Regions from separate parts of the Homo sapiens genome. Here regions 1, 3 and 4 are each linked to region 2. The links are contacts of gene promoters, found by promoter capture Hi-C in blood cells and fetal thymus (Javierre and others, 2016). All regions are on one chromosome and are shown on one strand. The core of a region is centred on a gene start or on the middle of the fragment in contact, and the rest is flanking DNA. Distances in the headings are between cores, read along the strand shown. Region 1 has its middle 59 kb from the start of SNAR-I. Region 2 holds the start of TMEM207 (transmembrane protein 207). Region 3 has its middle 43 kb from the start of GMNC. Region 4 has its middle 20 kb from the start of GMNC.

Region 1 (6,797 bases), core at 702-3,201, 490 kb before region 2:
CTCTTCCCCAATAAGTACAGCTATAAACCCTGGCAATAATGCAAGAGACAACAAAAAACAGTGCTGAAAGGGGATAAAAGAAAGCCCAAATGATTTGGGACCCAAGGACTGGCAGAAAAACTTAATGGCAAGAAAGCTTATGATCCCCACACTCAGCAGAAGTCATCGACCTTAGAGTTTCCCAGCCCTAGTGAAGCGACAGAAGGGAAGCCAGGTTGGCTCATTCCCCCTACCCCTGACTGAACAAGAGTTCACTAACAGTACCAGGAGAGCACGGCACCACAAGCAAGGTAAATCAGCTGGGAGTCCCAACTGCAATCAGCAGCCAGAGAAAGCAGATTCTTCTTCCATGTAAGCCTGAGACTCCTTTTCCACCAAGAGACACGGGACAGCTGGGCAGCAACAGCAAAAGGGGTGCTGTCACAATAAGCAGCACAACAGGGAAGATTATTATATCCCTGTGGGCATAAGACCACCTCTCCCAATGAGAATTATTACGTGGTCAGCTGGGCAGCAGCAACTGCTGCTAGGTTAAGGAGTTAAACCTAGGAAGACATTTTGGTCCTAAGGTTCTGAAAGTAGATGGGTAGGTGGAAATCTCACCATAACAGTGTTCTCCGTCCCCCACAAAAAGAAAACCCCACCAAAATGAAACTCCTGTCCAAGGAAGTCAACTGATCCCAGAGAGCTAGAGACTTCTTTCCTTGATTGAGAAACACCTTATAGCACCAGTTGTGGAAACTTCTTCTGCCTTCTTCAGGCAAGAACTGCAGGGACCCATGGGGGCCCCAGCAGTACCGTGTAAATCGAGCAGACCAAAATAACACTGCAAAGATCTGAAAGTTAAACTGTCAGAGAAATAGCAACCCACAAAAGTATGCCAGGATCTAGCTAAACCTAAACAGAGGGGCTGTCTTCTAGAATAAGAGATTTTAGAAGACCCGAAGTCTCCTAATATAAAATACAAAATATCAAGTATACAATTGAAAATCATCCAGTTAGCCCAAGAACCAAGAATATTACATCTTGATGAGAAAAAGACAATCACTGGCACCAGCACCAAAATCAATTAGATGTTGAAATTTTAGGGCAAGAAGTTTTAATCAGTGATGGTAACAATGCTTAAACAATGAATTACATATTATCTTGAAGCAAAAAATATAAAATTTCAGCAAATAAATAGAAGTTATTTTAAAAAATGGAAAACACAGACCTAAAAGAATACAGTAATAGCATTATAAAACTCACTCGATGGACTCATTACCATAGAGAGCCAATGGCTAGTTTATCCGCTGATAAAATAACTAAACTTGATAGATCAATAGAGGATAAAATAACTAAACTTGATTGATCAATAGAATTTATCCAATTTGGACAAAAGAGAGAAAATAGAATGAAAAATAAATATAACGGCCTCAAAAACTTGTGACAATATTAAAAGATACAGCTTTGTAACATTAAAGTTTCTGAAGAAGAGGAAAAATAGAGTGGGCCTAAAAGCCTATTCAAAGAAATAACAGCTGACAACTTCCCAAATTTGGCAAAAACACACAAACCTACAGATTCATGAAGATGAATAAAATTCTAAACAAGATAAATCCAAAGAAATTCATGCTAACACTAATCATAATTAATCTTCTGAAAACTAAAGACAAAGAAAAAAATGTTGAAAGCAGCCTGATATGAGGTTTCCACACTTCACCTAAAGTGGTTAAATGTTGATGTCTGTAGGCTGTGATAAATTACATACGTATATCATAGTTCCTAGTGCAACCAAAACAAAAATTGTAGAAAGAGATATACTCAAATACATTATCACAAATCAGTGCATGTATGGAGCCATACAATGTGTTCATGTAACCCGCAGGAAGGCAAAAACGAGAAACAAAGCCAGAGCAAGTAAGCAAAGAAAAATAATAAATTGACAGACTTAAGCTCTAACATATTAATAATTACCCTAAATGTAGAGTCTAAATAGATTAATCAAAAGACAGGTTGGCAGCTAAAGTGAGCAAAACAAACAAAAAATCCAATTATACTCTATTTACAAGAAACTCACTTTAAAATCAACAACATATGTAGATTGGAAGTAAAAGTTTGAAAAAGATACACCATACAAACATTATTTTTTTTTTTAAAAAAAAGCAGAGTAGCTGAATTAACATCAGACAAAGTAGATTTCAGAGAAAAGAAAACATTACTAGAGATACTACTAGGGACATCACATATTTGCAAAGTGACCAATTCACTGGGAAGACGTAACAATTCTACATGTGTATGTACCAAACTAGAGAACATCAAAATATATGAAGCACAAGCTGACAGAACAGAGACAGGCAATTCCACCATTCGAGTGGGGATTTCAGCACAGCCCTCTATCAATAAAAATAACAGAGAAAAGAGAAAAATCAATGAAATTGAAACTATAAAAATAGAAAAAAAAAATCAATGAAACAAATCCCTAGTTCTTCAAAACGAGTCAACGAAGTTGGTAAATCTCTAGTAACACTGACGGAAGTAAAAAGAGAAAGGACACAAATCACTAATATCAAGAATAAAATAGGGACTATCACCCTGTAGTCATTGAAACAATTATAAGGCATTACTTTGAGCAACTTTATGCTGATAAACTCAACAACTTACAACAAATGGACCAATTTTTTGAAAATCACAAACTACCAAATCTCACTAAAAATGAAACAGATAATTTGAACACCTTCTACAAAATAAATGTGTGATTAAAAAGCACCCAAAAAAGAAATTCCCAATTCGATAGTTTTACTGAAGAATTCTGGCAAACATTTTGAAATCCAATACCAATTTTATGTATTTTCTCCCAATATTTCTCTGTCACCAAAAGAAGACAAACAGTTAAAAGAAAATAAAAAAGACTGGTGTCTCTCATGAACTCAGACACACAAGTCCCCAATAAAATATTGGCAAACTGAACTTAGCAACGCATGGGAAGAACTATGTAACTCTGCAAAGCAGTATGTAAGACTGGTTCAATATTATAAAATCAATTGATGTAATTTCTCACATCAACAGGCTAAACACTAAAATCCTATGAACATACCAGTTAATACAAAAGAAACATTTGTCAAAAATCCAAACCCTATTCAGTATAGAAACCCTCAGGGATCTACAGATAATTTCATACTTTATGGTGAAAAACGGAAGGCATTTTTTCCTCTTAAGATCAAGAACATGGTAAGGATGTCTATTCTTTTCATTCTTATTTAACATAATACTGAAGTTCTAGCCACTGCAATAAAGCAACAGAGGAAAAGGGAAATAAAGAGAGAAAGAAAGAAAGAAGGAATGAAGGAAAGGGAGGAGTGGGGAGGAACAGGGAGAGGAGGAAATGAAGGGAGAAAGAGAGATAGGAAGGGAGGAAAGGAAGGAAGAAAAAGAGACAGGCATGCAGATGAGACAGAACAAAACAAAACTTTTTGTATTTGCACATGACATAATTGTGTATGTACAAAATGTCAAAAAAATTAGGGGAAGGGGAATTTCTATAATCAATAAGTGAATTTAATGAGGTAGGGTAGCATTATACAAAATCAACACAAAAATATCAGTGTACTTTCTGTACACTAAAAATAAACATACATTAGCTGGGCATGGTGGCATTGGCATGTGCCTATAGTCCCAGCTACTTGGGTGGCTGAGGTTGGAGGATCGCTTTAGCCAGTAGTTCGAGGTTATAGCGAGCTATGGTTGTGTCACTGCACCCTACCCTGGGTGACAGAGGTAAAGCTTTGCCTACAAAAACTAAAATAAAATGAAATAAAAGAAAATAAAAATGAGCACATAGAAACAAATAATACAATGCCATTTAAAATCATTCCCTCAAAAATAAAATTCTTATGTATGCACTTAATAAAACATATACAGCATCTGTATGCTGTAAAACAATGACATCGATTATCCTTACATTCATCTTCAGGTTTCATGCAGTTCCTATAAAAATCAGAGCAAGATGTATTGTAGATATAAACAAATTAATCCTAATATTTATATGAAAAGGCACAGGACCTAGAATAGCTTAACCAATCTTGACAACAAAGAATAAAGTGATGATATCACTCTACTCAATATTAAAGCTTGCTTAAACTACAAATCATGACTGTGTGGTATTTTTAGAGAAATAGACACATTGATCAACGGACTAGAACACAGAACCCAGAAACAGACACATAAAAATATGCTCAACTTAATTTTGAGACGTTCCAAAGGTAGCTCAATGCAACACAGATAGCCTTTCAACAAACCGTGCTGGAGAAATTGGACACATAAGGAAATTAAAAAAAGAACTACAACCTAAGCCTCACACTTTATACAGAAAATAACACCAAGTGGATCATGCACTTAACATAAAAGGTAAAACTATACAACTTTTAGAAAAGATTCGAAATAAGTCTTCAGCATAGGTAGAGTTCTTAGACTTGATACCAAAATCATGATCCATAGAACGAAAATCTGATAAATTGCACTTCATCAAAATTAAAAACATTTGCTTTATGAAAGTCCCTATTTAGAGGATGGAAAGGAAGCTACAGGCTGAGAAAAAATATTTCAAGCCACATATCTGACTTATCTGACAAAGGACCAATATTTAAAATATATAAAGAACTGGATATCAGATGAAATATGCACAAATAAGCACATGAAATGCATTCAACATCATTAGTCATTAGGTAAATACAAATTAAAGCCAAATGATATTAATATATTACCACACACTTATCAGAGGGCTAAGAGGATGAACTGAAGCAGGTGGGGTGTCACCTCACTTGGGAAGTGCAAGGGGTTGGGGATCTCCCTCCCCTAGCCAAGAGAATACTTGAGGAACTGTGCAGTGAGGCACAGAACACTCTGGCCCAGATACTATGCTTTTCCCATGGTCTTCACAACTTGCAGGCCAGGAGATTCCCTTGGGTGCCTATGCCACCAGGGCCCTGAGTTTCAAGCACAAAACTGGGCAGCCGTTTGGGCGGACACTGAGCTAGCTGCAAGAGTTTTCTTTTTTTCATAACCCAGTGGTGCCTGGAATGCCAGCGAGACAGAACCGTTCACTCCCCTGGAAAGGGGGCTGAAGCCAGGGAGCCAAGTGATCTAGCTCAGCGGATCCTACGGATCCTACGACCGCAGAGCCCAGCAAGCTAAGATCCATTGGCTTGAAATACTTGCCGCCAGCACAGCAGTCTGAAGTCAACCTGGGATGCTCGAGCTTGGTGAGGGGAGGGCGTGCACCGTTACTGAGGCTTGAGTAGGTGGTTTTCCCCTTACAGTGTAAACAAAGCTGCCTGGAAGTTCGAACTGGGTGGAGCCTACTGATACTCAGCAAAGCTGCTGTAGCCAGACTGACTCTCTAGATTCCTCCTCTCTGGGCAGGGCATCTCTGAAAGAAAAGCACCAGACCCAGGCAGGGGCTTATAGATAAAACTCCCATCTCCCTGGGACAGAGCACCTGGGGGAAGGGGCGGCTGTGGGCGCAGCTTGGGCAGACTTAAATGTTCCTGCCTGCCGGCTCTGAAGAGATCTCCCAGCATATCGCTTCAGCTCTGCTAAGGGACAGACTGCTTCCTCGAGTGGGTCCCTGACCCCTGTGCCTCCTGACTGGGAGACACCTCCCAGCAGCAGTCAACAGATACCTCATATAGGAGAGCTCCAGCTGGCATCTGGCAAGTGACCCTCTGGGACAAAGCTTCCAGAGGAAGTAACAGGCTGCAATCTTTACTGTTCTGCAGCCTCCACTGGTGATACCCAGGCCAACAGTGTCTGGAGTGGACCTCCAGCAAACTCCAGCAGACCTGCAGCAGAGGGGCCTGTTAGAAGGACAACTAACAAACAGAAAGGAATAGCATCAACATCAACAAAAAGGACGTCCATACAGAAACCCCATCCGAAGGTCACCAACATCAAAGACCAAAGGTAGATAAATCCATGAAGATGAGGAAAAAACAGCACAAAACAGCTGAAAATTCCCAAAACCAGAACGCCTCTTCTTCTCCAGAGGATCACAACTCCTCACCAGCAAGGGAACAAAACTGGACAAAGAATGAATTTGACGAATTGACAGAAGTAGGCTTCAGATGGTGGGCAATAACAAACTCCTCCGAGCTAAAGGAGCATGTTCTAACCCTATGCTAGGAAGCTAAAAACCTTGAAAAAAAGGTTAGAAGAATTGCTAACTAGAATAAGTTTAGAGAAGAATATAAATGACCTGATGGAGCTGAAAAACACAGCATGAGAACTTCATGAAGCACAGGCAAGTATCAATAGACAATTTCTTAAAAATACTAACCATTCAAAATTATAATGTGACCCAGCCATTGTATTCTTAGGCATTTATCGCAGAAAAATGGAAACTTATGCTCACTTAAAATGTACACCTGAATATTTGGAGCTATTTGTTCATAATAGCAAACACCAGAAACAATCCCGACATCCTTCAATAGGTGAATGGACAAACTGCAGCATACATATTGTGAAATAATAACACAGCAATGAAATCAAACAAATTATTTGTACACATAACATATTGAATGAATCTCCAAGGAATTGTGTTGAATAAAAAAACATGCCAAAAGATTACATAGGATATGATTCCATTTCTATCATATTTTTAAATTACATGATTTTAGAAATGGAGAACAAGTTATTGGTTTCTATTCCATCTGAGGTAGACAGGCAGGAGAAGGTAGACTCTGATATAAAAGTGCAACATAAGGAATCCTTATAGTTATGGAACTGTTCAGTAGCCTGACTGTGGTGCTGGATACATGAAA
Region 2 (6,618 bases), core at 3,456-5,955:
CTAAGAACCTACTGGCAGTAATTTTGGTAACATATGAAGGTGGTTGGTGAGTAAGTTAGGTAAAAAGTTGTTAGTCAAGGTAGTAGAAAGTGCTGGGGGTCTGTATATATTTTGAAATTTGAGACTACAGGATTTACTGATACATTAGGTATGGCATATGAAAGAGAGAACTAAAAAATATTTATAAGATTTTTGGTCTGAAAAAACAAAAAGAAAAGGCTTTAACTTACTGATCTAGGAAATATTTGGAGAAAACACAAAGGATAGAGAAGAGATAAGCAAAATGAGAAGCTAGGTTTGGGTTAAGTTTACTTTGCAGAAGTCTAATATATCCAATGATGATATGGACATTATGTGACATGTGATGTTTTCCTCAGCTGCCATCACAACAATCTCCTCCCCAGCCAACTGAGAGTCTCCGCTCAACTCCGTCTGTTCTAGGCACACTCTGCCTTCTTGCTTTTCCACACACTTCCCAGGCATTCTTCTGTCTCAGGGAGCTTTGCATTTGATCTTTCCTTTGTCTGAAATGCACCTCCCACATTTTCCACGTGGCTTACTTCCTCACTTCCTTAAGGTCATTGCTGAAATGCCACATTCTCAGTAATGTTTTCCTCAGCTGCTATATTAAATATCGTAACAATCTCCTCCCCAGCCAACTGACATGGAGTTGACAGTTAATCTCATGAGTTCAGGGGAAATATCTGGATTGAAGATACAAATCTCAGAGTTGTCACTTTATGGATGATAATCTGTAAAACTGACTGAGATTCTTGAGAAAGTGGATATATACAGAAGAGAAAGAGGTCTGAGAACTGAGTCTTAGGGAATTCCTAACATGGCAGGTCTAGAGAATTGAATAGAAATGGTCAGCAAACTGGGAGGCAAATCAAAAACGATATCATTCTGGAAGCCAAGTGAGGAAGGTAAAGGAGCAAGAAGTGATTAACTGTGTCAAATGTTGTCCATTACTTAAAGTAAGATGACTAAAAGTTCACCATGGATTTGGCAATGTAATCAATATTTCCTTTCACTAGGGAGAAGAAGCAAATGGAGAAACTAGAGACTCCGACAGCTTGCTGCCTCATTTTATGTCCTCCTTATATTACTTCAACTCCTATTGTTTCCATGGATCTCTGAATTAATTTTGAAATTCTCGTTTATTTTATTGTATTTTGTTGTGTTTTATGCTCCAGTAATCAACATCTTACATCTGTGCTATATCTGATTTCATGTTGATATTTTCAATGTGATCTTTAATGAAATTATTAGAGAAAGATAATTCAATATTATTATCATTATTTTAGAAAATGCAGTTTTTATAAATAACTGTTTATTGTCATACTGCTGATTATTAGTGACCAAGGCTTCCTAACTCCTAGAACCTTAACTTGTGCCTTTAATTTTGATAAAGAGAGTAGCTGGTGATCCCTTGCTTGCTCTTTGGACCTTCCTTTATGCATGCCCACTTTTATTCATACCTTTTATTTATTCTCGCTTAATTCCTTGAATTTTGGTCCTCAATCCTTTCGAAGAGCTGCATGCCATGACCTTTAAAGACAAATATTGATATGACTTCAGAGCTTCAGGGAATTTTGACTTATGTCAGGCTCCAAATCCAGAGGATAGTTTTCATATTTCCTGAACTCCAGCCATTTCGGAAGGATTAATCTCTTCTCACAAAGAAAAGAGATAGGTGAATAACCAGAATTGTGAAGTTGAATATATGTGTGTCCATTCTTTTGTAACAAAGATGTAGATAAAAGGTCCACCATCCAAGTACTGGGTGAATTTTATACACTATCACAGTGCATGTCCTCTTTCTTCTTCTACAGATTCTTTTCAAGTTTTGCCTACTTCTATTTTTATAATCAAACATAAAAAGTCCCTAGAATCTTAGTGATCTAAGAGACCATATTGCTATGTATAGCAGTCAACCATCTTCAGCTTGACTTTCCAGTGATGACAATTCACTACCACAAGTTCATGCACATAAGGATGTAGTTGGACTTACAAAATTGATCACACATTTTAAGTGATAAAATATCACATGTACCCTATAAATATGAACGACTGTTATGTACATATAAATTTTTTTAAAATCATGCCGATGGTGGATTGCCTCCATGTCAATTTTCTGGTTGTGATAATGTATAACAGTTATGTAAGATGCTACCACTGGGGTAAGCTAAATGAAGAGTATATGGGATCTCTGTAGTAGTTCTTAAGACTGCCTGTGAATTTAAATTTATCACAAAATAAGCTATTTTAATTTTAAGTATCTATTAAAAAAATTTTGCAGGTAAAATTGCACTCATGGTCAGATTTTGTATTCCACAACCACCAAACTCTCATGATGCTAGGAAGGAAATGTACTAGAAAAACTACTGTCTTAGAAACTGTTATGCTGGACGTTGGAAGTGGCATGGGAAAGTCACAGAAGTAAATGGATAAATGGCAAGGTGGAAATGAATATAAATTTTGATTTTAGCACCAAATATAATTGCTGTGTTTGCATTACTATTGTGACTATAGACTCCATCTCCATTCAGCTGCCATACTCCTAATCAGGCAGCTGCTGCAGAATCATGCATTTTTTTTGACAATAATTACTTAATCCATGTATGTAGTTGGTCATTATTGCAGTTTCTGAGGCAAAACCAAATATGCTGCCCTTATTTCCATTCTGTCTCTTCTCTAGTCATCTGGCCTCTTCCTTTCCCAGAAATTCTTAAGATCATTGACTCCACCGACGGAAGTCAGGCTTCTGACTGCCTAATAAATAAGTTCACCAGTGAAAAGCCTATTTTTCATTCTGTTTAATTACAGGCTTCAGAGACACTCAAAATGGAGCGTATCTGGGGGATAAATAATACTGTAGGTTTGGTTTACTTTTCTCCTATTGGCATTGGCACCAAGCCTTCCTCTGCTTTGAAATTCATGGCTGCGACCGTGGCTGCATACTAAACAGAGCGTAGTCACCACACAGACGGCTTCACCCATCCAGATGCAGCTCAACTAGTCCATATACCGCGATGGCCAACTCTGTGCAGTAGTTTAGATACCTAATACTGCTGGTTTGTTTCTAGAGCAATCTATGTGTGTGATTGTAAATGGGTTCATACATTACAATTTGAATTGGATGTGGTGAACTACACTGGAGCTTGAATTACGATATTCTCATTCTGCATTGTGGATCATTGCCTTCAAAATTGGCTCTTAGAAGTGAATATATGTAAAAAATAATTAGATGACATATAGACATTGTAAAAAATATCAAAAATACAAGGAAGTAACAGTGAAAAGTAAATTTCCTTCCCACTCTGGTCTTCTTAGTTTGCAATTTCCCTTTCACAGAGCAACCACTGTTAGCAGTTTCATGCAGAGACATCCTATGCATATATAAGTATATATGCATAAGTTTTGTGTACGGAGAGAATACTATAGCTCTACCTTCCTATTTTTGCATACAAATGTGACATGATGTACACAAAGTTCTGTGATTTTTGTTCCTTTTATTCAATAACTATTACAGACCTCTCTATATCAGCATCTGTGATCTGTCTCCACCTTTTAAAACAGATTCCTAGTATTCTGTTGAATTTATATAACCATTTTGTACTTAGTCTGTCACATTTTCATGAATATTTGCTGTTTCCAATATTTTGTTAACACCAACAATGCTTCGATGAACATCATTGCATATAGTAATTTGTGCCATGTGTAAGGGGTACATTCATGTATCTTGCAAGGAGAATTCTTGCTCTAAGGGCATATTTATTTTTTATGTTGATGTATATTGCCTACTTGTTTTCCAAATAAGCTGTACAGTTTTCCCAACCGTATATGAGAGTATTTGTTTCCCAGTATTTATCCCTCTTCCCTATATTATCAATTTTTTGAACTTGCCAATCTGATTATAATTCTAAGGTATGTTTATCTAATTATGACTGAGGTTAAGCATCTTAACAATCATTTGTTACATTCTTTCCACATAACCATTTAGCTCTTCATTATACCCTGAAAGATATCCATCTTCTCTCCACTAGTTTCAAATGGAAGCTTAAATAAATTTGTTTATTTGAGTCTAAACTCTCCATTTCTAAACTCTCTACTCTTTTACATTTACCTTATTATTTACACATATCAGTACTAATTTTTGTAAAATGCATAGATTAAGACATCTTAATGTACAATAGGTTAGTGCCTTTTCTTTTTCTCAGAATTTCCCTAGATATTCTTGCTTTATTTTTCAGTGGTAGTGATGGAGTTGTTTCATAAAATAAACATTGAAATATACCTTGTTTAAAAGAGGGGTATTATCACAATAAAACAAGGAAAGCTTTATGCCTAAGTTTGGGTTAGACCTGGAACTGAAAATGGTGTGTAGGAGAACAAAGAGTACCAACAAAGGGAAGAAAATTGAATAAATGTTCCAAATATGAAATACTATTAGAAACCCAGAAGTTCCCTGGAATAAAACATGCACTTGAATGTGGAAAGTTATTAAGTAGCCAGCTAGCTCTGTAGGTCAGCATTTATAACCCCTACTTTTAAAGGCCTTGACAAACAGTGCTAAAGTTCTCACCTTAAACTTAAATTCCTTGGGCTCTTAGTACCTGTAAACATGTACCCAACATTCCTTCCCCTAGCATGCACTTTACGAGTCACAAGGAGCCATTATTAATGCATGTCCTGGTAGGAAGCATAACTTATAGAGAAGCTAGTAAGTTCTGAGAAAGAAGGAAATAAACACAGGCACCAAACCACTATCCTAAGTTGACTGTCCTTTAAATATGTCAAGATCCAGACTTTTCAGTGTCACCTCAGCGATCTCAACGATAGGGATCTTGTGTTTGCCGCTATTCCAGGTAACTATCTCTCTTTCTGGGTTAAGGTTTTCAGAGGTACTCTGAGGTACTCTGAGGACTTGATTTGCTATAGATTTATATGTGAGCAACTTAACTGCTTCTACATTTAAAAGATTTCCTTCAAGCTTTACTAGCATCTTATGATTTCTTGTATTCACTGGTCAGAGGGACAAAACAAAATGTCCAAGGCATTAGTCTTATTTCTCCTTCAATTAGTTCTATTGCTACTGAAATAACGTGATTGCAAATTTAACCTTTGTTTAACTTTGCTATGCTGTAATTTTTTAAATTCAAAATGCTATTGACACAGAACAAAATGCTATGGCTAGATTAATTTAAGACATGTTTACTATTGCCTACAACCATACTTGATGCTTGACAGTTTTTCAATGCTGACTGATGTAGACAGAACCATTTTAGGATTTATTTCAGTTCCTCTGCTCCAGCATCCCCTTCTGACTAACACGTGCATCTCTAGATCTGTGTGACTTCAATGCAAGGTATCTGAAAGATTTAGATCTAAAGTAAATTATAGCTTTCCTTACCTCTTCATAATAACTGGAAGTTTGACAGCTAATGTGTTGGCAGTGAGGTGCTAATAATTTAATACTGTGTACTATTGCTAGGGTACAACACACAGAAAAAACACGGAAGTGACTTGAAAGTGAAATACTGGTTTTATTTGTTTATCTGTTAAGCTGGATCCCAAACGATTTCATCTACTCATAAATAAACTTTCTTTATGGACAAAATGTGAATGTTCATTTTCCTTTCACTTAGTATGCAAATCTATTTGCAGCATTCTAGCAAAAAAGAATGCAACTCATTTTCTGTGCTTATAAATTGTTCATTACCATGCTCTCTGATGGCCAATTCATGGCTCCATCTGCAACTCCACAAATCTCTTTGCCCAGATAAACTTGGTGGAGTAAATACAAGGTGCTGAAGAAGATGCTTTTGGGATTAAGGGGGGAAAAGACACATCTCACACAGAACTCCCAAGTCTATCACTTTAAATTTTGTAACTTCTTACTTGTACTTTTATTTGCGTGTTATAGTCCAGGAAAATAAATACTTCAACTGACTTCATCAACTAAGTGTTCAGAGCTACACATAAATGCCGTTTAAAGACTTTCTCCTTGTACAAGGAAGGAGTCCTGGTTCAAAGGGTCAAGCAAGCAAATAGATAATAAGATCTTTAGAAAGAAGTGCCTTTTTCCTTGTGATTTAGTATATGAGATGTTGTAACCTATGACACTCAGTGCAGATAACTAAGAGCATTATTTTAGAATGCTTATAGTATTGGACTTTTCAAACAAAGCAACAAAGATGATTACTTTTTTTCTCTTCTCTGATAAAGAGAAGACTGTAAATCTCAACTGGAATGTCATGTGATCTTAAATGGACCTTACCCTTAGAGCAGGTTAAAGTCGCCCTTTCATGAATATATATTTAATGCCCATTAATGCTAATAGGCTTGACTTCTGTTTCCATGTATGTACTTGGAACTTGTTTTTTTTTGCGTGAAAATAATACTCACTAATAATGAACCTCTGACCTCTAGCTACAACATGAAAACAAAAAATGCAAAGTGCACAAAAGCTCTTTAGAGCAAGCAAAATCTGCATATAGAAAAAACAAAAATTGTCGTAAAATCCATTTATATTGGTATGTAGAAATGGAATCTGGTTCACAATATATATCTTCTGCCACTGCTGAGCTTAAGAATCCACCCAGAGATTTTTTC
Region 3 (6,331 bases), core at 1,591-4,090, 370 kb before region 2:
GCAGTGGCTACTCACAGGCTATTAGTGGACCCGCTACAATGCTAGACCTGCCATAGCATTTCCAGGATTGCCCCTTCACCAACTCAACTTAGCAACCTTGGGGTTCAGGTTCAGATCATAATTAGACCAACTGTAGTGGCAGCAGGCTTCAGTCTTGCCCCAGAACCAGGGAAGCTCTGGAGGATCTAGGAATACAGACTCCAGGCCTACCCTAGCAGACCAAATCAACACATTCACCCAAGTGTAACCAGGCTTCAGGCTCACCTACTTGCTAACCCAGGCTCCAGGCCAGCCAGCCCAAAGACTCCAGCAGGAATTCTGCTTAGTACCATATCAGATGGCCTGTCCAGAATCTCTGGGCTGGCTATCTCTGGACCTAATATTAATCAGCATGAAAGTTTTATCCTGTTGCATTTCTGACCTGGGTTGGCTCAACCATCCTTAAGCAACCTGGTGGTCCTCTGCTTTGTGAAATCACCATATTGATGCTAAACTTAGTGTGGACACCCAACCAGCATAGCATAATACAGCCCAGAACTCCTGGGCTCAAATGATCAACTATGTTTAAATTAAGATATGCATATTATTCTTATAGACATAATGCTGTTGCACACTTAATAGACTACAGTATAGTGTAAAAGTATTGTTATATGCACTGAAAAAACAAAAAAAAAGAACAGTGTGACTCACTTTATTACAATATTTGCTTTTATTGTGGTGGTCTGAAACTGAACCCACAATATTTTGTGGGTATACCTGTAGTGTCCTTTTCTTTCAGCTTGAATAACTCCCCTCAGCATTTCTTATAAAAAGGCCTGCTGTTGATACTCTCTACATCTTTGTCTTGGAACTTTTTCTCTCTTTTATTGCTGAAGAACAGTTTTGCCAAGTACAGTATTATTTGTTGGGAGTTTTTTCCTTCAGAATTTTGAGTGTTATCTCCCTTTCACCTAGCTTGTAAGATTTCTGCTGAGAATTCAGCTGTTAGTCATATTGGAATTCCCTTATATGAAATTTGCTTCATTCTCTTGCTGCTTTCAGAATACTCTTTGTCTAATTTTTGATAGTTTGACTATAACAGGACTTGGGGTGGTTTTGTTTAAACTAAATCTCACTTTGATTTATTTATGACTTTTATTTATTTTTATTGACTCATTGTACTGCCTAGGAGTCCTAGAAAAAAGTTAAACAGAGGTTGTGACATCTTCTATTTAAAAGACATCCTTTTCTTTTACTTGAATTTAGTGGGGAACATTTCTACATTTCACCATTACATATGATGCATGCACGATGTGAGTTTCATTTTGTTATGATGCTGTTTATTAGATTGAGGAAACTGCTTTCTATTTCTTATTTCTTGGTCATTTCTGCCATGAAAAGATGTGAATTTTGTTGAAATATTTTTCTGCACATCATGAGATAATTATGTTACTTTCTACTGCTCATTAAGTTGTGTTATATTGGCTAATTTTTAATGTTAAGTCAAACTTGTATTGCTCGGATAAAATCTACTTGATCATTGTGTATTGTCTCTTTCAGATATTGTTGAATTTGACCTGCTAATAATTTGTTGATTAATTTTATGTCTATGTTCATGAGGAGGATTGGTCTAATTTTTTTCTCGTTTTGTACTTAGTAGAGTTTCGATCTAGATTACTCCAACTTCATAAAGTAAGTCTAGACTTGTTCCCTCTTTCTTATCTTCTGAATGAGTTAGGTAAGACTAGTTTAATTCTTCCTAAATATTTTGTATAGCAACCAGTAAGGCTAAGCTTAAAATATATTAATAGAATTTTTAAAAACTCTGCATTTAATTTATTTAATAAATACAGAAATATTCAGATTTGATTCTTTTATTGGTCAGTATGCTAGGAAGAATTCTGAGATAGCCTTCAAGTTTCCTTCCTTCTAATGTGCATGCCTGGTATATTCTCCTTCAATGTGGGATGAACTTGTGTTATGAGTAGTCAAATTAAAAAATATATATTTGTTTATTTATTTTAGTAGAGATGGGGTTTCCCCATGTTGGCCATACGGTCTTGAATTCCTGACGTCAACTGATCCACCAGCCTCGGCTTCTCAAAGTGCTGGGATTATTAGCGTGAGCTGCCTTTTTCTTTTCTACTCATAACACCTTATTATGCCCAGTCCACTTTCAAAGAGAATATACCAGGACTTGTAAAATCCCATATGATGGCATTTTATCATATGATTATGTAATTAAGCAGATGACTGTGAGTTCATCAAAAGCAGGATTCTTGCAGATAGACCTGGCCTAATCAGAGAGCACTTAAAACAGGGATTCTGCCTCTTGTTGAAAAGAGAGATTCTCCTGTTGATTTAAAAAATGAAAATTTTCATGTTGTAGAGATTCAGGAAGTACCGAATGACCTCAAGGACCTAATATCCTCAATTCTACCAGAACTGGAAGAATTGGAAGAGGACTCTGAGCATCAGATAAGAACACCGGCTAGATAACACCTTGGTTTCCGCCTTGTGATACCATGAGCAGAGAACCTAGCTGCGGTATGCCTGGACTGGTGATCTACAGACATGTTAGACAATCTCATTCTAAGCCTCTGCACTTGTGGATATTTTTTAATGCAGAATTAGAAAACTAATAATGTCAGATTGGGTAAATTGTGTTTTTCAGAAAATTTGTTCATTGTTTCCAAGTTGTAAAATTTATACATGTAAACATGTTCATAAATTTTTATATTTTCGACGTCTATAAGATCTGTAGTTATGTCTTATTTTCATTTCTTTATTAGTAGTAAATATTTTTTCTTTTTTCCCCTTGAGCAGTCCCTCTAGATATTTATCAATATTATTAATATTTTCAAAAAATCTGCCTTTTTCCTTATTGATTGGTGTTCTTTTACTCTTTTTAAATTTTATTTTTTTAAATTATTTTATTTTGTTACCAGCAGGATCAAGCAGGTAAGTTTGCTCTTGTTTTTATATAACCAAGTTGCAACCTTATTTTATGACCTTAATACTTTTTACTTTCTAAGTATTTAATGCTATAAGTTTTCCTTTGACATTCTTTATGTGCACCTCATAAATATCGATGTGTTAAATTTTTATCATGGTTTGGTTTAAATTATTATTTCATTTATTTGTGTGTGTTTTTATTGTTGGTGGTGGTGAGTTGTTTTGTTGTTAAATTTCTAAGTATTGGGTGCTTTTATAGATATTTTGTTACTATTACTTCATAACTTAGTTCTGTTTTGATCAAAGAACATATTCTATATGATTTCAATCTTTTCAAATTCAGTAAGATTTGTTTTATGACCCAGTTTATCATCAATGTTGATAGATGCTGCATGTGCACTTTAAATAACTATATAAAAATCCCAGCTTCTGCTAAGGAAGTAAAGAGCTTAAAAGGGTATTACTCCTACACTCACAAGAACAGCAAAAAGTGGCCAATTTTCAAATTCCCAACTTTATTTAAACGCATCAGACAGTTCATGTGTTGGGACAAACAACTAACCAAAAATATAAGAAAAGGTAAGCAGCAACAGAGATCACCTGAGGCAGAATCTTCCTGGCCATAGTGAGAAAAATTTGGCTAAATTCGTTAACATAAATTTGCCAAAGGCTGAGTGTGAGGTAGCAAAACACAAAAAAAACCTGTGAAGAAATTTAATACTGACTCACAGGCTCTTGTTCACAGACCTAGGTGGGTGCTCAGCAAGAAAGATTGGAGTAGGGCAAGGAATATGAGCAATCAATCATTCCATACGATGCAGATATGGGGAAGGGTGGATGCAGATATGGGGAAGGGTGATTGCAGCTGTTGCATGGAAAGCACAAAGCCCACGTAGATTCTTCTCCTCTAAATCTCTTATAGAACAAAATACTTGCACCACTGATAGAAAGATAATATATTCTGTTAAGCTTAAGACATTGGTGGAAACTTGTTGTAGCTGGATAACGGCACAATAAATAAATCTATTTCTTAATCAGAGAAGGTCATAAATACTTAGTGAGGTCAAACTTATGATTTATAATGCAGTACAACCACTGAGAAGATAGAACCTCTAATAAGACCCAGGAACACAGTGCCTATCTAAAACTAAGGGAAATTAAAAACAGAGAATATTTTCAAACCTCCTCTGAACCAGGCTAATAAGAGTTGGATAACAAGTAACTGCTGTCTACTATTGAGGGAGGGAAACAGCATGAATGAAGGCATTCTCTGAAGTACAGGACCAAAAAAAAAAAAAAAGACAAAGCTCAGAGTAGAATAGATATTAAGAAAACCCTCTGGAAAACTCATCTCCATTCTAAATGAAAAGTAACACTAGAGGAATTTAAAGCCTGTACTGCACTAAGAGTAGCCATAACAACTGAAAAATCCAAAAGCAAATCTACTTCTCACTAGGTTGAGTAATCAAAAGCTGAAAAGGTGGAGAGCCATGCCCATTTCCAAGCACAAAAACAATTTAATTCAGTCTCTACTGCTCTGCAAAAGATGTCTAGCCTAAAAACAAAAATAAGAGATGTACAAATAAACAAGAAAGAGCAACACACTGTTACAAAGCAAAGCAATCAACAAAACCAAACTCAAATGTTACACAGATTTTGTTATCAGACAGAAAAATTAAAATAACTATAATTAATCTATTGAAGACTGTAATAGAAAGGTTTGCACTATGCACAATCAGATGTGTAATTTCAGCAGATAGATGAAAACAAAAGAAAGAATAAAATGGAAATGCTGTAAGTAAAACACACAGTAACAGACATAATGGATTTCTTCAATGGACTTATCAGTAAACTTGACATGGTCAAAAAAAGAATCAATGAACTTTAAGGTAAGTCAACAGAAATAACACAAATTGAAAAGCAAAGAGGGAAAATAAAACCTTTTGGTTTCGTTCACTTGTTTAAATAAAAAACAAGATGCAGCCTCTCAGAATTTGTGGAAAATATCTAAAGGTTTACCATGTATGCAATTGAGCTGAGCACGGTGGTTCGTGCCTATCATCTCAGCACTTTGAGAAGCCTATGTGCTTCTTGAAGGATTGTTTGAGGACAGGAGTTCAACCCCCTCTCTACAAAAATTGTTTTTAAAAATGAAATAAGTGTGGTGGTCTGCACCTGTAGTCCTAGCTACCTGGAAGAATGAGGCAGGAGTGTTGCTTGAGCCCAAGAGTGCAAGCTGTGTTTGCACCATTTCACTCCAGCCTGGGCAACAGACCAAGACCCTGTCTCAAAAACAAAACAAAACAAAATCCAACAACAACAACAAACTATATATGTAATTGAGCTGCAAGAACAGTAGGACTATCCAACAAACTCATATAAACTTAAACAGACCAGACACAAAATTCTGAAAGCCAAAGAGAACAACATTTTTAAGACAACTAGAGAATGAAAGACGCGTTATATAGAGAGAAACAAAGACAAGAATTACAGTAGACTTACCATTAGAAGCTATGCAAATCAGAAGACAATGGAGTCTCATCTTAATAGCACTGAAAGAAAATCACTAACAACCCAGAATTCTATACTTTAAGCAAATTTCTTTTAAAATGGATAAAGACTTATTCAGTGAAACCAAAACTGAGAAAATTGATTGTTAAGATTCCTGACATGCTGTCAAGAAGTGCTAAAGAAAATTCTTCAGACAGAAGAAATATAGAATCTGAAAACTGGATATTCACGTAGACACAAAAACAGAGTACTAGAAATAAAACAAATAAAAAGATATGCATAATGTATTTTTCCTTACTTTTCATAGCTCTAAAAGAGCTGAGTTCCTTCTGCAGGTTCTAGAGGAATATCCATTTCCTTGTCTTTCCCTATTCCTTGAGGCTCCCACATTTCTTGGCTCATGTCTCCCTTCTCCCTTCAAAGGCAGAAATAGCAGGTTAAGTCCTTACCCTACACCACTTCAATCTTGCTTTTATTGTCACACCTTTTCTGACACTGAATCTTCTGTCTCCCTCTTTCGCTTTTACGAACACTTGTGGTTACATTTGAGCCCAATCAGATAATACAGGATAATATCCCTACTTTAAGTTCTGATGATTAACAACATTAATAACTCTTTGCCATGTAACATAACACATTCACAGTTTCAAAGTTCTAGAATGTGTACATCTTTGAAGGCTATCTCTCTACACCGCACAAGTATTGACTTTAACTAGAGTAACTGTAAAATAAATGTGTGTTTTACTATTATTTGATGAAGCTCTGTGTACATTTCAGCAGGATTAAGTTGATTAAAATCATTGCTCTATTAATTCTAGACTTATTCTATCAATTACTAAAAATGGTGTTCAAATCTTCAATTATGATGATAGATTATTTTTCTCTT
Region 4 (6,856 bases), core at 4,292-6,791, 390 kb before region 2:
TAAATTTTATATACACACATATGTATATGTGAATCTGTATATATGTAATATCAAACAGTAAGTTTATAATTACTTTTTCATAAAGAAACTATCATATTTTCAGGTTATTAAAATTTTTCTGCAATATGATTTTCAATTAATGCATGGTATGGCTATTTGTGAATGTACTATAACATATTTAACTAATTACCTCTTCATATGAAGGTTACTTCCAATTTTCTTTTTTCTTTTCTTTCTTTCTCTTTTTTTGTTGAGATGTGGTCTCACTCTGTCACCCAGGTTGGAGTGCAGTGATGCAATCTTGGCTACTGCAACTTCCACCTCCTGGGTTCAAGAAATCCTCCCACCTCAGCCTCCCAAGTAGCTGGGATCACACGTGCATGCCATCACACCTGGCTAAATTTGTGTATTTTTGGTAAGGGCTGGTTTTCTCCGTGTTGCCCAGGCTTGTCTCATTCTCCTGAGCTCAGGCAATTCACCCGCCTTCACCTCCCAAAGTGCTGGGATTACAGGCATGAGCCACAGTGCCCACCCCAACATTCTTTATTATATGTAATGTAACTATATATATATGTATAATGTGGGAACTTCTTGTGGCTACACGTTTTCACTGCTTATTTCCTGAAACTGTAGTTGTTTTGTAAAAAAGTATTTACACTTTTAAGAGTTTTGAGGCCCGGCGCGGTGGCTCACGTCTGTAATCCCACCACTTTGGGAGGCTAAGGCAGGCGGATCACTTGTCAGGAGTTCCAGACCAGCCTGGTCAACCTGGTGAAACCATGTCCTTACTAAAAATACAAAAATTAGCCAGGCGTGGTGGCATATGTCTGTAATCCCAGCTACTCGGGAGGCTGAGGCATGAGAATCGCTTGAACCCGGGAAGCGGAGGTTGCAGTGAGCAGGGAGCATACCACTGCACTCCAGTCTGGGGGATAGAGCGAGACTCAGTCTCAAAAAAAAAAAAAAAAAAAGGTTTCAAAATAAATAGCAAAAGGAAAAAAAGCCCTAGACCTTATCATTCCTTTCTGAATTTGTTTCCACACTGCTATAAAGAACTACCTGAGACTTCTAATTTATGAACAGAAGAGGTTTGATTGACTCACAGTTCTGCAGTTACCTAGTATCAGGTAGTTCTTTATACCAGTGTGGGAACGGACTAATGCACTGCTTTTAAATCATTTGTTGCCTCATGTTGCAAAATCTTACATTGATATTAACGCATCTGCCAACCTAAATTTGGTATAGCTCTCATGTATTGAAATAAAACCCAAGAAAATTCTGAAAATAAAACTCAAGAAAATTCTGGTGGACATATGAATTTTCAGGGTTGATTTGGAAGTTTAAGTTAATAAAATTACTGCAATCAATAGGACTAACACCTAATTTTTTCTAAGCTCTCTGGTCAATTCTGTGAATTGATGAGAGTGTTGAATTTTGAGTTGAGTGGTTTACTTTGTAAATAATGTACATTATTTTCTCATTACAGATATAATCTATACTCATTTTATCCACGGATCATATTTTATAGGGTAATTTATTATCAAAGGAAAAGAGAATCTCCTACATATTGCAGATAACAAAGTAAGCTAATTTATCAATCCCTCCTTTTCTTCTGTATTCCTCCAAATAATTGAAAAACCCAAACAGCAGTGATTTCTGTTAAGTGTATTCAAATTTATTTTATATATTTGAATACTTTAATATTTCTTTGTGCTTTCTCTATTTGCTTATAAGATCACAAAGTTATTGCTCATCTAGAAATCTGATGCAATGTCTATTTTTCCTGATGCTCACTCCATCATCATGGGCAGATTTTTTTATATAATTTTGGCAAAATAGAGACTGTCAAAAAATTACTTTTATGCAAAATATTGATAAATACTTTTTTCTGATACTATCAATCGTTCTTAAATTATGGTTTTATAAAGGATTCCCTAATAACATATTTTTCCTTGATAACATTGTATTCTGAAATATGCATATAAATTTAGGAATTTTATATATTCTTATATATAAGGAATCAATTATTAAATATGTATTAAATTATTTAAAAACACAATTGCAACTTCATTGTATAAAATGATTTAATTTTAAAATGTGTATATATAGACAAAGCTAAAAACAGAAACTAGATAAACAACAAAAAGCGTTTGGGGTGGGGAGCAATAGAAAAAAAGAGAATTTGGGATGACATTTTTTCCCTGTCATTTATATTTTTGCTAATATCAAAATCAAAACAATTTGGAGAAAAGCTAAAGAGACATAATAAGCAAAGGTAATTACCAGAAGTCATGGTGGTGAATCTGTGATGAATTTCTATCCTCCTAAAGCAAAGAATTGTCAAATACGTGCAGTGGAAAGAGAAAAAACGTTATATGACTGTGTTAGACATTTTTAAGCAACAAATACTCAAGACGTTTTATTTCTAAATGGAATGATGATATTTAAACTATAAGAAGTAACCATTCTGGATTCTTATTTATTCAAATCCTTCTATTAATTGCCTAGTTATGTAGTACTAATTCTTCATTATTTTTGAATAAAACAATACACTACTTAAATTAATTCTGAGACTTTTATTTATTAAGTTTTAAATCTTACTTTTCAAATTGGCAAAAATTAAGGATGATAATGTACAGGAATGTGGAGAAACATTATCAAGAAATGTGGAGAAAGATGTCCTTTTATACATTGCTGTAGGAAATGCAATAAAGTACACTTAATTGATTGAAGCAAAAAAGCAGTCAGTGTCTATAATACACAATGGTTGAATACCTATGTGTGTACGTATGAGAAGAATTTTGTGTGGATAAAAAAATGTAGGATACAACTTTGTGAAGGGAGAAGGAGTGGAGTTTGCTGTGTGGGAGGGAGCCTGGGACACAATTTCCTTCCAGAATTATAAAGGGAAAGCAGGGCAGAAACCTTTGTGCCATTATGTCATTGCCACTCATCTTACTCTTTTTAAGGTGCCCCTGCTGTCCAAGGCTTTAACTAAAATAGAGAGGAGAATATAGCAAATATATGACAACCTGCTTTCTCTTTTCTCTTCTAGCTTGTTTATGGTCGAGTTCTACAACCCCATCTAGGAAATAATTTTATCTCTATGAAATGTGACTATTATTATATATCTGTAATACTGTGTTCAACATCACAGCTGAATTTTTTTAACATTTTTTTCCATTGTATGACTACTGTAACACGTTCAACCCCACTACCACATGAGAGATGGATGGCTCAGCTTGTCTAGGTACAAAGGCATATACATAAAAGATGAAAGAAAAAAGCATTTCTACCATATAAATAATATTAATCTTATTAAATATGAGAGAACTAAGAAAATATTTATTCCAATCTTTTTATCCATGGATTTTAAATTTAATCAATAGGCTTTGGAGTCTGTTTTAACCAACATTGTGAGGAATGCTGACATATTGAATGATTTTAGAAGCATTTAGTCCTCAACTTTACAAAGGCTGGTTAAAGCAGACTTCCTATTATGCCTAGACTCAACCCAAATGTAAGATAATCAGTTGTTAAGTTCCCCCAAAAGGCTCATATCTACACTCATTAGAATAGATGCTAATTTTCTACTTAACAGTTACATGGCTTTATGCAGATTATTTAACCTCTTTAGAACTTTGCCTCATTTGTAATATTGGCAACACTATAGTGCTTAACTCAAGTTTTGACACAATGATTGAATGAGTTACACTGAAATATTTAGAACTAGTCCTGACACATACTAGGTAAGATGCAGAAATGTTAATTATTATAATCACTACTATTATAATCATCTATAAAGAAACACATCAAGGTAGAATAAGAAAGCTTGGAAATGCAAATTATGAGAACTGGAAAAGATTTTCTAAACCACATAGATCAATTGAGTGTAGCTCCTGCGAGAAGTGCAATCAGAAAGTAGGTAGTTCAGCAAGGGATAGAGACTCTGAGAGTGGAAATCTGTGGCCAGTCAAGTTATGATGACTCCAACATGGTATCATTTTGCTCTTGAATTGATCTCTTTCCCTGTAATTATTGTTACCATCAACATATATTGGACCCATAAGACATTTTCTTTACTTCAATATATGATCTCTGATAAGACTTTTGTTCCTTTAGCATTGTGGGAGAAAGAAAATCATTTATTTTTACAAAACATTGGTATATTTTTAATCACATATGCTTATATGATACATATTAGAAAACAAAACTAAACACATAAAGCAATACACATAGAGCAAAAATACACATTTATGTGTAGAAGCAAAGATGAGAAGTATTTTTTAAAATACACATTTATGTGTAGAAGAAAAGGTGAGAAGTATACTGAAATGGGCATAGTGACTTTGGGAACTGCTGATTTTTTCTTTTTGTTGTATAAATTTTCAAACGTGTAAAAATAGGGAAAATCCTTTATGAGCCCCATGTACTTCAACAATTATCAACATTTTCACATCTTGTTTGATCTGTTCAGAACTACTACTATATTATGATCACCATTTTGAGTTCTTAAAAACAGGTATAAGATATCATGCCATTTCATCCAAATCACTGTAATATACATGTTCAATTATAAGTAACCACTAGACCCTTATCACATCTAACAAAATTAATATTAATTCCTTAATATAGTTTTTTACTTCTTAGTAAAACCTTTATTTTGTAACACTCTTTTATTCTATAACAGCCAAACTTATCTAATACTTTTCTATACAGCATTGATTTGTTAAATAAACTGGCCATTTGTTGTACAGAACTGACTAGTTTTTGAATATGTGAATTCATTATGCATGTTTTCATATCAACATATATAACTATTATTATTTTATGATTGCATTGTGTGGTATTTTATTATACATTGTAACTTAAAGTTGTTGACCATCCCAAGATAGAAGAAAAGAAAATAAACACAAAGAAGAGTAAAATAACTTGGCTTACAGCACACATATTTCTTATCTTTCTGTGGTTGTCTTTTTTCAATATTTCTAGTGCATATTGTATTTTAATTTATTATTAATACATAAATCTAGAAATAAGGGAAAGAAGGAGGATATGATAGTGAGAGAAAAGAAAGGCACTCCACTGTCTTTTATTTTTTCATAGACTAGATTACTTAATCCTAGCACTAATGTTGTATTTCTACGTGAATGGTACCACTTTAACATGTACCATTCAGAAATTCCCTCCTAAACATTTTAACTCTTATGTAAGTAAGACTAAAAATAACTTAGTTTTATATGCAAACTGGAAAGCATTAAAGTATCCAGTCCAAAGAGGCACATTTCTTCTATGGTTTATTATCATTGAGAATAACGTCACTTTTCAGGAAGGATCCTAAGTCATTTCAATTATGAAAGGTATGCCTTTGTAAGGAGTTCAACAGATTGTGAGTCCTAATCACACTTTGATCACATTGCTTTCATAAAAGAATAATATACATGCAACTATAGCACCATCAGTATCATTACAACCCTTTGTTTCGTTTTATGAAATACAAAAATCTTAGATCCAGAATTTTAGTATTACTTAGTCCAATTCACATGAAAAACCTAGAAATAGAACATTGGTCTCCTGAAAATTTCTACTAAATAACCTATTGTATAAGAAAATGTCATGTTTAATAAGCATATTTGCAATGATAAAAAGAACTTTAATTTATGGACAAATTTGTAATTGGAAAAAAATTACTTCAGCACAGGTATTTGTCCCTGGGCAACGGGAGAAAGGAGTTTTGGATTAGGTAATTTTTTAATGTTCTCTTCAGCTCTAAGGCTCTATGGTTGATTAGTTATTTAAAAAGGATGGTTATTAAAGTAAAACAACTGTCTGAAGACTTTAGTGGATATTTACAAAATGATTATAGTTGGGTTTTACATATTTTTGCCACTCACTCGGTTTGTTTTTTTTTTTTTTTTGAGATGAAGTTTTGCTCTTTTCGCCCAGGCTGGAGTGCAATGATGCCATCTGAGCTTACTGCAACCTCCGCCTGTCGAGGTCAAGCTATTCTTCTGTCTCAGCCTTCTGGCGATTCACTCTTGAACATATATTTATTGGTATGAGGAAGCAATAATTGTCCTGTTGAACCCAAGGTGCACAAAGTGAACAAAAACATCCTCCATCACATTGCTCTGGCCAAGGTGCTGAAATCAGTCCCTAAAATTGCATTCCAAGTATCAAATCACTTAAGTAAGTACTAATTGTTTTCTATTGTATTTTTAATTACATTCAAATAAAATACATATCATGATACCAAAAATGTGTCTTAAGATTTCTACACCCCTAAAAAGTAGGCATCTGTAACAAAAATTACAGCTAGCACTAATCATTAAAATGACATTGTAGCCTGTTTAAAAATACTAGGGCTCTTTTTTGGTTTCATACAAATTTTTAAATAGTTTTTTCTAGTTCTTTGAAGAATGTCAATGGTAGTTTAATAGGCATAGCACTGAATCTTTAAATTGCTTTGGGAAGCACGGCCATTTTAATGATATTGATTTTCCCTATCCATGAGCAAGAAATGTTTTTCTTTCCATTTTTTTGTGTTGTCTCTGATTTATTTGAGCAGTGGTTTGTAGTTCTCCTTGTAGTGATCTTTCACCTCCCTAGTTAGCTGTATTTCTAGGTATTTTGTTCTTCTTGTAGCAATTGTGAATGAGAGGTCATTCTGACTTAGCTCTTGGCTTGATTATCGTTGGTGTATAGAAATGCTAGTGATTTTTGCATATTTATTTTGTATCCTGAGGCTTTACTGAAGTTATTTATCATATTTAGAAGATTTGGGCTGAGTCTATGGGGTGTTCTAGCTATAGGATCATGTTTTATGCAAACAGGGATAGCTTGACTTCCTCTCTAC

The links. Contacts are between HindIII fragments. The CHiCAGO score rates a contact against its expected background, and 5 or more counts as called.
Region 1: a fragment that was not itself captured here is called in contact with the fragment with the promoter of TMEM207 in region 2 in 1 of 17 cell types (neutrophils); the score reaches 6.0 in neutrophils.
Region 3: a contact is called between a fragment that was not itself captured here and the fragment with the promoter of TMEM207 in region 2, in 1 of 17 cell types (neutrophils). The highest score is 8.5, in neutrophils.
Region 4: a contact is called between a fragment that was not itself captured here and the fragment with the promoter of TMEM207 in region 2, in 1 of 17 cell types (neutrophils). The highest score is 6.9, in neutrophils.

Annotation. Positions count from the first base shown.
Region 1 is chr3:190,933,308-190,940,104 of GRCh38, reverse strand. No RefSeq gene overlaps it. Among named protein-coding and RNA genes, the nearest start is that of SNAR-I, 59 kb to the right of the region's middle. The HindIII fragment of the contact is 3,626 bases long and covers 139-3,764 here.
Region 2 is chr3:190,447,988-190,454,605 of GRCh38, reverse strand. TMEM207 (transmembrane protein 207) reads left to right here and starts at 4,705. Exons shown (of 5, transcript NM_207316.3): 1 at 4,705-4,871. The coding sequence starts at 4,797. The HindIII fragment of the contact is 654 bases long and covers 4,345-4,998 here.
Region 3 is chr3:190,816,851-190,823,181 of GRCh38, reverse strand. No RefSeq gene overlaps it. Among named protein-coding and RNA genes, the nearest start is that of GMNC, 43 kb to the left of the region's middle. The HindIII fragment of the contact is 2,131 bases long and covers 1,775-3,905 here.
Region 4 is chr3:190,839,624-190,846,479 of GRCh38, reverse strand. It overlaps a transcript of GMNC not described here. Among named protein-coding and RNA genes, the nearest start is that of GMNC, 20 kb to the left of the region's middle. The HindIII fragment of the contact is 3,416 bases long and covers 3,834-6,856 here.